Regions from separate parts of the Homo sapiens genome. Here region 2 is linked to region 1. Evidence: promoter capture Hi-C in human tissues and cell types (Jung and others, 2019). All regions are on one chromosome and are shown on one strand. Each heading gives the region's core, a stretch centred on a gene start or on the middle of the fragment in contact. The rest is flanking DNA. Distances are from core to core; before and after follow the strand shown. Region 1 holds the start of ADAMTS2 (ADAM metallopeptidase with thrombospondin type 1 motif 2). Region 2 has its middle 71 kb from the start of ADAMTS2.

Region 1 (4,097 bases), core at 594-3,093:
TAGACACGGCAGGAAGGTGCAGAACATGCCCCTTGAAGTAGGGGCGGCTGCTGGTTGGGTTTCACTCGTGTTTCGAAGAGGATGGAAGCGCTGACAACCACAGGAGGAATGCGTCATGGGTTCCAGGACAGCAACTGGCTGGACCCAACTCTGGGCTGCCTAGCTCCCCCAGCCTTCACAATTCAACTCATGCCACCTCTTACAGGAAGTCCTCCTGGATGCCCAGCTCTGGAGTCATCTCTGTGGTATACTAGGATTCCAGTTCCAACTTTCTCTGGAACCAGTTGGGTCATCACAGGTCACGAGAGCAGATGCCTACAGAGAGTGAGGAGAGGCGGGACCTGCCACAAACTGCAAGGTAAGTGCCCATTTAATGGTTGCTAAGCAGGACTGTGGGGCTAGCGTGGCCACATCTTCCAATATCTCAAGAAAAGTTACCAATCTAAATTTCCATGTGACATCTCACCATGCCTGGGAGCTGGATCCAGCCTCGGGCACCCTTAGGTGACACAGAAAGAGTACAGCTTGCAGGTGAAGATGGCTGTCCAGCTGCGATGCTCTCACACCCAGGACCCACAATCGAAAGAACCAAGGACGTGAGATCACAGTTAGAGCCTGCTGTGTAAGTCGTGTTTCCCCCAACGACTGGGACCTCCTGGCCAGCAGGGAGAGGCCTGAGTCATCTCCGGGTCCTCTGCCCCTGGCCAAAGCAAAGACCAAAGCCCTGGCCACACAGACCTGGGGCAGGGCAAATGAGAAAATCAAAGGGGTGGGTGTTCACCCTCTGGGGAAGTGAGGCAGAAATTGGGGGTCCCAGGGCAGAGATGATCAACAGCCTGAGAGGGGGCTCTCAGGCAGGCCCTGGAGAGAGGCCGCTGAGCTCAGACAGCATGGGAGGATCAGGGCCTTGCTGGAGAGGAGGGACTGGGGAGGGGTTCCGGTTGGCAACGGGCTCTAACAGCAAACTGGCCCCAGAATGGGCCCAGGTGTCCTTGGATGCTTGGGTGGAAAAGGTAGGCAGAGCTTGGAGAGGCCATTTCAGGTTGGGGGCCGGGAGTGCAATGGCGGGAGGACAGAATGCATACGTGGGGTTGAGGACAGGTGAGGGCAGGAGCCTGACTGTGCTCATGGGCAGAGAGCCCAGGTCTGGCAGGAAGAGGCTGTGCTGAGGCTGCAGCGGAGGGATGGGAAGGCAGATGGGGGACAGGGGACAGGGACTTCAGAGGAAGAGGAACTGGGGACTGAAGGAGCCTTGCCTCTCTCAGTAAGGGCAAAAGTTGATCTTTGGGGTCGCGCCCTGGGTGTACCCTCCTAACAGCATCTTCTGGCCTTTGCGGCCTCTATTTGGGCATTCGGCCTGGCTCAGACCTTGGACCCAGTAGTCAGTCCCCCCTCCCCTTTCATTCCCTCACCCTGTCCTGCCCCAGAGCACAGAGACAGGGGGATGCACCCCTTGAATTCCAGGGCTGATGGGTGGGACCCGGCACCCCAAGGGCTCTCTAGGTGGGGACGTTCGGCCGGCGCCGCTCCTCGGAGGTTGTGCCCCTGGGGTGGCTGGCGGCGGGGCTCCCCCGGCCCGGCCCGCGGCGCTTCTCTGCCGCCGCCTCGGGGTGTCTCTGCTTCGCTGCGAGCCCGGCACCGCGGCGACGGCGGCGCGAAGAGGGAAGCGGGCGGCGGCGGCGGCCGCGCCAAGATGCGCCGGGTCACCGCAGGCTGAGGCGCCCGCCGTCCCCGCCCTCCCCCTCGCTCGCCTCCCTCCCTCCCGCCTGCCTCCCTCGCTCGCTCGCTCCTTCCCTCTCCCCGCCTTCCCTCCGCGCTCCCCCGCCCGCCCCTCCGCGCCTCGCCTCCTCCGCCCCGCGCCCTGCGGTGCTGCAGCTGCGGGCGGCTCCAGCTGCCCCCAGATGTGGGCTGGGCGGCTCGCGGGGAACTTTCGCGCCGGCTGCGAGTGCGGGGCCCCGGCTGCAGTCCGGCTGCCATGGATCCGCCGGCGGGAGCCGCTCGCCGCCTGCTCTGCCCCGCGCTGCTGCTGCTGCTGCTGCTGCTGCCGCCGCCGCTCCTGCCGCCGCCGCCGCCGCCCGCGAACGCCAGGCTCGCCGCCGCCGCCGACCCCCCAGGTAGGTGCGGCCCGGCCCCTACTCCCCGGGACCCCCGCCGGCCTGGCCCTGTCCCGCGTGCCCCGCCGCCCCCTCCCCAGGCGTCGTCCAGCCTGACTTGGGCAAACTCCGCGCGCCCCGCCCGGGGCCAAGTTGGCCAACTTCGGGGCCGGGTTGGTCGCGCAGGGGGCGCCCCGCACCGCCCCCGAGCGCCTTGGGCCGGGGGAGCCTCGGAGCACTGGCGGCTCCTGAGTCGCGGAGGGTGGGGACGGAGGGCCGGGAAAAGCCCCGCGGCCAAGAGCGCAGAGTCAGCCCCAGCGGGTCCGAGGGGGGAGCCAGGGCGAGGCGGCGCCGGGGCTCGCGTCCGGGGACGCTCCGGAGGAGCCGGCTGCCGAGCGCGTAGCCTTGGGCCCTAAGGATTGGTTGGGGCGCCCCGCAGGGAATCCCCGGAGATCGGAGGGACCCTGTTCCACCCCTCCCAGTCCTCGGGCGCTCGGGGAGACGGGGCCGGCAGCGGGCTGAGCGGGAGCTGGACAGGCAGGACAGGCCGCTCGTGCTCGGGGAAGCCGAGACTCCGCCGCTCCGGAGGCTGGCGGTGAGGGCACTCGGGCGGCAGGGGCCCGCCGAGGGGTCGTGGCACACGGGTAAGGGGGCCAACCCGGAATGGCTTCCGAGCAGCTCCACGTCCTGCCAAGGACGGTAGGTGCAAGGGTCGGGGGACTCTCTGACGGGGTCGTCCCTTCGGGCACGGGGAGGTTCCCACCGAGCCCCAACCCTGAACGGGGCAGGGGGCAGAGCTCTTGGCAGGCAAGGTCTCCGGAGGAGGGAACGGCTGGGGAGTGGCGGAGCCCCGGAGTGGTGGCCCTGTTAACGCCCCTTCCCGGTTGCAGGAAAGCCGGGGAGGTGCAGGCTGGCTTCTGGGGTCGCCTGGCGGAATGCCCCTTCCCTTCGCAGTGGGGCGGGGTCTGGGGGGGCGTGGCTTGCCGGCGGGTCTCTGAGGCACTGGGGCTCCGTGGTCTCCGCCGATCTAACGCCCCTTCCCGTTGCAGGCGGGCCCCTGGGGCACGGAGCGGAGCGCATCCTGGCGGTGCCCGTGCGCACTGACGCCCAGGGCCGCTTGGTGTCCCACGTGGTGTCGGCAGCTACGTCCAGAGCAGGGGTACGAGCCCGCAGGGCCGCCCCGGTCCGGACCCCGAGCTTCCCCGGAGGCAACGAGGAGGAGCCTGGCAGTCACCTCTTCTACAATGTCACGGTCTTTGGCCGAGACCTGCACCTGCGGCTGCGGCCCAACGCCCGCCTCGTGGCGCCCGGGGCCACTATGGAGTGGCAGGGCGAGAAGGGCACCACCCGCGTGGAGCCCCTGCTCGGGAGCTGTCTCTACGTCGGAGACGTGGCCGGCCTAGCCGAAGCCTCCTCTGTGGCGCTCAGCAACTGCGATGGGCTGGTGAGTACGCACTTCTCTAGCTCCTTTCTCTCCGCTGCTCTCGCCTGGGTTTTGGAAAAGGGTTACCTGGGAGTCCCTTGGGAGGGCAAGGCCTGCGCTGAGGACTTTCCGCGCCCTTCCCGTGCTTTAGTGAGCCTCGTGCTCCAACTGAAGGGCTTGGCTGGAAAGCAGGTTGTTTTGACTGGTCTGAGCAGGGGGCCATTTATGCATGGGGAGCGCCCGGGTCTCCAAAAGGCTCAGCAGGCAGGAGCGTGCGCCTCTCTCTTTTGCCTGCCTGAACAGGTCTCTGGCTTGCATCCGGGGGTGGGTCCGTGTATGTGTGTGTACCTTTGTGAGTGTGTGCACATGTGTTGTGGAACGTTGGTGTGTACCTGCATCTGGGTGCCCGTGCACCTGTGTGAACATGTGCGTGTGCCAGTGTCTCTTGTGCACGTATGTGTCTGGGTTTCTGCACATCAGTGTGTTGAGCATCTGTTGAGTTTGTGTCCGTCCTTGTGCATACTGGCGTGATATGTGTGTGGTGGACTTATGGGCTGGCAGTCAGTCTTCCTGTTTCCTTG
Region 2 (4,097 bases), core at 718-3,217, 72 kb before region 1:
GGTCTGTTTCTAGTGTCTTTGTCAGTGATATCAGATCTAAATATTTTCCCCAGTTTGTCTTTTTTTAATTCTTATTTTGGCCACAGAGGTTTTGCCACGCAGTTTTCCAAAATACATGCTTTTGTTTGTTTGTTTGTTTTGAGACAGAGTCTTACTCTGTTGCCCAGGCTGGAGTGCAGTGGCGCGATCTTGGCTCACTTCAACCTCCGCCTCCCGAGTTCAAGTGATTCTCCTACCTCAGCCTCCCGAGTAGCTGGGATTATGGGCACCTGCCACCACACCTGGCTAATTATTATTATTATTATTGAGATGGAGTCTCTCTCTGTTGCCCAGGCTGGAGTGCAGTGGCGCGATCTCGGCTCACTGCAAGCTCCGCCTCCCGGGTTCACGCCATTCTCCTGCCTCAGCCTCCCCAGTAGCTGGGACTATAGGCACCCACCACCATGCCCAGCTACTTCTTTGTATTTTTAGTAGAGATGGGGTTTCACCATGTTAGCCAGGATGGTCTCAATCTCCTGACCTTGTGATCCACCCACCTTGGCCTCCCAAAGTGCTGGGATTACAGGTGTAAATTTTTTTGTATTTTTTAGTAGAGATGAGGTTTTGCCATGTTGGTCAGGCTGGTTGTGAACTCCTGACCTCAGGTGATCCGCCCACCTCTGCCTCCCAAAGTGTTGGGATTACAGGCGTGAGCCACTGCACCGGACTACGTATTAACAAAGAAAGACTAGCAGGTCATACACCAAACTGAGAGCCACCCCCAACACAACACATGGTGGAATTGTGGCTGTTTTTTGTGTTTTCCCTTTGCATTTTTAAAGTTGTTGTTGTTGCTGATGCTGAGGGCACATTACATTTGCAACCAGAGAAAGATGTAACAGGTGCCATGCAAGTAGAATTGTTCATCTATGGCAGGACTGCCCAGGGCTTTGTGGGCCTCGGGTACCAATGAATTCACTTGGCATTAAGGCCCACGTGGCCTTGGGTCCTGCCTCCCCTCCCTGAGCCCATGGCAGCCCGAGGGTCTCACCTGTCCCGTGGTCACCCAGCTGCTTCTGGGAGACCTACACAAGGCTCCCAGAACTTTGCCTGTTGCCCATGCCACCCGTGCTGCTGGCCTCTGCCCTGACCCTCTCCACCACTGTGCCCCTGGGGCATGCCATTGGCCCTGTCCTCTGGGCACCTTCCTGAGGTTTGAGCCATGAGACCTGGGCACCCTCTTGACCCTGTGCCACTTCCCAAAAGACTGAAGTGGCTGCAGGCAGCTTTAGTTGAAACTTTTCTCTCCTTTCCTCTATAACCTTCACATCCCCTGGCTGCATCCTGCAGGTGCTTAGTAAATGCTTGTGCACTAAAGATACGAAAGGGGAATGAGTTGGGGCCCAAAGCAGGAGCAGAAGGGATTTCCTGGGTCCCGGGATGCCCTGAAGAGGGCCAGTGAGTGCTCTGACCCAGCCATCAGGAGTGACCCAGGACAGAGGGCAGGTGCCATGGCAGGACTGAGCAGGTGCAGGAGAGGCTGGTGGGGCCCAGGTGCTGCCTGGGCTGGACCCTTTGCGCCCATAGAGAGCCCAGCATCACAGGCCAGCACCTGCCCAGCAGGGCACAGCAGTTGTGGGGTTTCCTCACTGCCCCAGTGCAGGCAGCAGGGTGGCCAGAACCATCTCATTCCCCGCCTCTTGCCCAGCATCCCAGCTTCCAAGCCCACAGCCCCGGAAGGAAGCCCGTCAACCCCCTCCTTCCTAACCGTCCTTGCTGTCTGCTCCCTTGGGAGACATTCCTGTTGCTGCTGGGGTGTCTCCCGGGTAATTGTGTGTGCATTTTAATGTTACCGGCCCTGCCGCTTCCAGCCCCTGGTTTGCTCTTTCAGGCCAGCTGCTGGAGAGCCATGGGGCACGCTGCGACCACCCAGGCAAGCCCATAGCTCACATGGCCTTTGTTTCCACAATAGCCTCCTCCCCTGCTCGATGTTATGTCCCCATCCCCGTTTTCCTGTCTTTTTTGGCTCCCACATTTAATTTATGCAATCCTGTTATATGTGTGTGTTCTCGTAAGCACCTTAAATCCTTTCCAGAAACGTTGGGTAGAAATCATAAATACCATTTCTATCTTCATCCGGAGTCTGGAGGTGGGTAAACATCTCATCTCAGTGACAGCTAATCTTATTAACCCTTACCTGGGTGGACAGGGGCATGGGTCCCGAGTAGAGCAGGGCCCTCCGAGCCTGTGGGGAGGCTCTGGGAGGGGGCAGTGGAGAGGAGACTCCTCAGGCTGAGTGAAGCAGGAGGGTCTGCCAGGCCCCTTGTGGCGTGTGGCGAGGGTATATGGAATATGACGGCGGGGCCAGGAGCCGGTGTCAGTGCTGCTGAGGACGCCATTGCCACTGAGGATCCTGGATTTTCGTAGGGGAGCCACGTCAGTCCCCTGGTTATTTGAGAAAAGGCCCATTTTCACCCCTTGGGAGCAAGGCTTTGCTGCGCTTGCCTGGCAGGGTTGCAGACGTCCTGGCGGGAGAGCAGGTGGGCAGCTGGACCTCTGGTTCCAGGCTGAGTAGGGAAGGAAGAGAGGTGGGGGCAGGTGTGGACAAGATCTGGGTGTGGGGAGGGGCGTGGGCTGAGAGAGCCCTGGCTGGCTGGGGTGTGAGGTTTGACACTGTCTCCGAGGTGGTGCTGTCCTGGTGACGAGTGGTTTTCAGGGCGGCTGTGGGAGATGCTGGTTGCGGCGGTGTGGCAGGCAGGCTGTGACCCTGTGGACGCTCCTTAGGGTGGGCACTGAGGAGGGAGGCAGGGCGGCAGTGTGGGGTGGGGCTGCCCTCCTGGGGCTGGAGGGAGGGCACTGTTGGGGCCGGGGCTATGGGCTTTGCCTGTTGGTCAGCCATCCCCTCTTCTCCTAGGAACAGTGCCCAAGAGCCCTTGGGATGCAGCCTCCATCCCACCTCTCTTTGCAGACCCTGTGGTCTCTGTGGGGCTCCAGCCCCTCTCCACTGGCTCATGGTAGGTCCGAACATCAAGCTGATTCAATTCTACTGAGTCCTGGGGCTGGTGTGGGAACTTCTGGGAAGAACAAGGCCTGGAACAATGTGGTGGCAGCCACGTTGCCACCATGAGGAGGCTGAAAGCAAAACCATCCGGAATAGACTGGAGAAACAGAGAATACCTAGGGACTGGAGGTGTTGTTTTGAGCCCGTAAATCCAGCTGTACTTGAAGATGATTTATAGAGTCATCGAATTAAAGTTTCATACAGGGTATGTGGACTTCAGGAGAGGCTTGATCGAGCAGCTCAATGGTGTCATGAAAAACACAGATCCCTTCTGGCTGTCTGCTTTTCACCTCCAATGGTGCCAGCTTCATCCTAAGGCTGGCTCTACTCTTGGTAGCAGAGTGGCTGCCAGCAGCGACTGCAATCACGCCCTTCCTCATTCAGTGAAAACTGCCGTCCCACCCCACCTCCAGAAGCTCCTGGGGAATAGGGAGGCATTTCTCGCACAATCCCTGCAGACACCTCGTCATTCTCATTGGCCTGACTTGGGTCATATGCCTGCCCCTGGACCAATCCATCTGGTCAGAGGTCTGAGATGTTCTGACTGAGCTGAGCAGCACCAAGAGGCCCCAACTTGAAATTCTGGGGTCCTGTTAAGAATGATAAATATGATTCCTACCTTCATCTGGAGCATAGAGGGGGGTAAGATGGGGGGCTGTATCCTTGGGGGGCCACCTTGCAGTGCTGGCAGAGCAGACCCAGCTTCCTGTGAGGCCCAAGTGACCCCACACTGGGTGTTCCCTTGGGTGGGGTCTCCTGGCAGCAGAGCCGGTGAGATCTGGGCTCTTCTCCAGCTCTCGCCTCTGGTCAGTGTCTTTGGTCTGACTCCAGTTACAGGGGAACAGGGGTGCAGTGCTGCACTGGTGGCAGCTGGAGGGGCACCCCACTCAGGATGAGGCTTAGAGAAGTCATCATGGGGTGGGGGGATGGCAGGGGAGGGGAGCTGTCACGGCTCTAGCTCATCTGCCTTCCTCAGAGGGTTCTGTGGACAGATGGGGGCTGCATCCATGGCATGGAAGAGGCCCTGTGCCTGGAGCCAAGTGGCCTGCCTTAGTTC

What was found. Contacts are between HindIII fragments. The study calls those that stand out against the background at their distance.
Region 2: a contact is called between a fragment that was not itself captured here and the fragment with the promoter of ADAMTS2 in region 1, in 2 of the 25 tissues and cell types used here (dorsolateral prefrontal cortex and spleen).

Annotation. Positions count from the first base shown.
Region 1 is chr5:179,343,207-179,347,303 of GRCh38, reverse strand. It overlaps ADAMTS2 (ADAM metallopeptidase with thrombospondin type 1 motif 2), which reads left to right and starts at 1,843. Exons shown (of 22, transcript NM_014244.5): 1 at 1,843-2,114; 2 at 3,143-3,537. The coding sequence starts at 1,976. It overlaps LOC105377759 (a long non-coding RNA gene), which reads left to right. Exons shown (of 3, transcript XR_941311.3): 2 at 206-358; 3 at 525-943. The HindIII fragment of the contact is 12,907 bases long and covers 1-4,097 here.
Region 2 is chr5:179,414,852-179,418,948 of GRCh38, reverse strand. No RefSeq gene overlaps it. Among named protein-coding and RNA genes, the nearest start is that of ADAMTS2, 71 kb to the right of the region's middle. The HindIII fragment of the contact is 6,389 bases long and covers 1-4,097 here.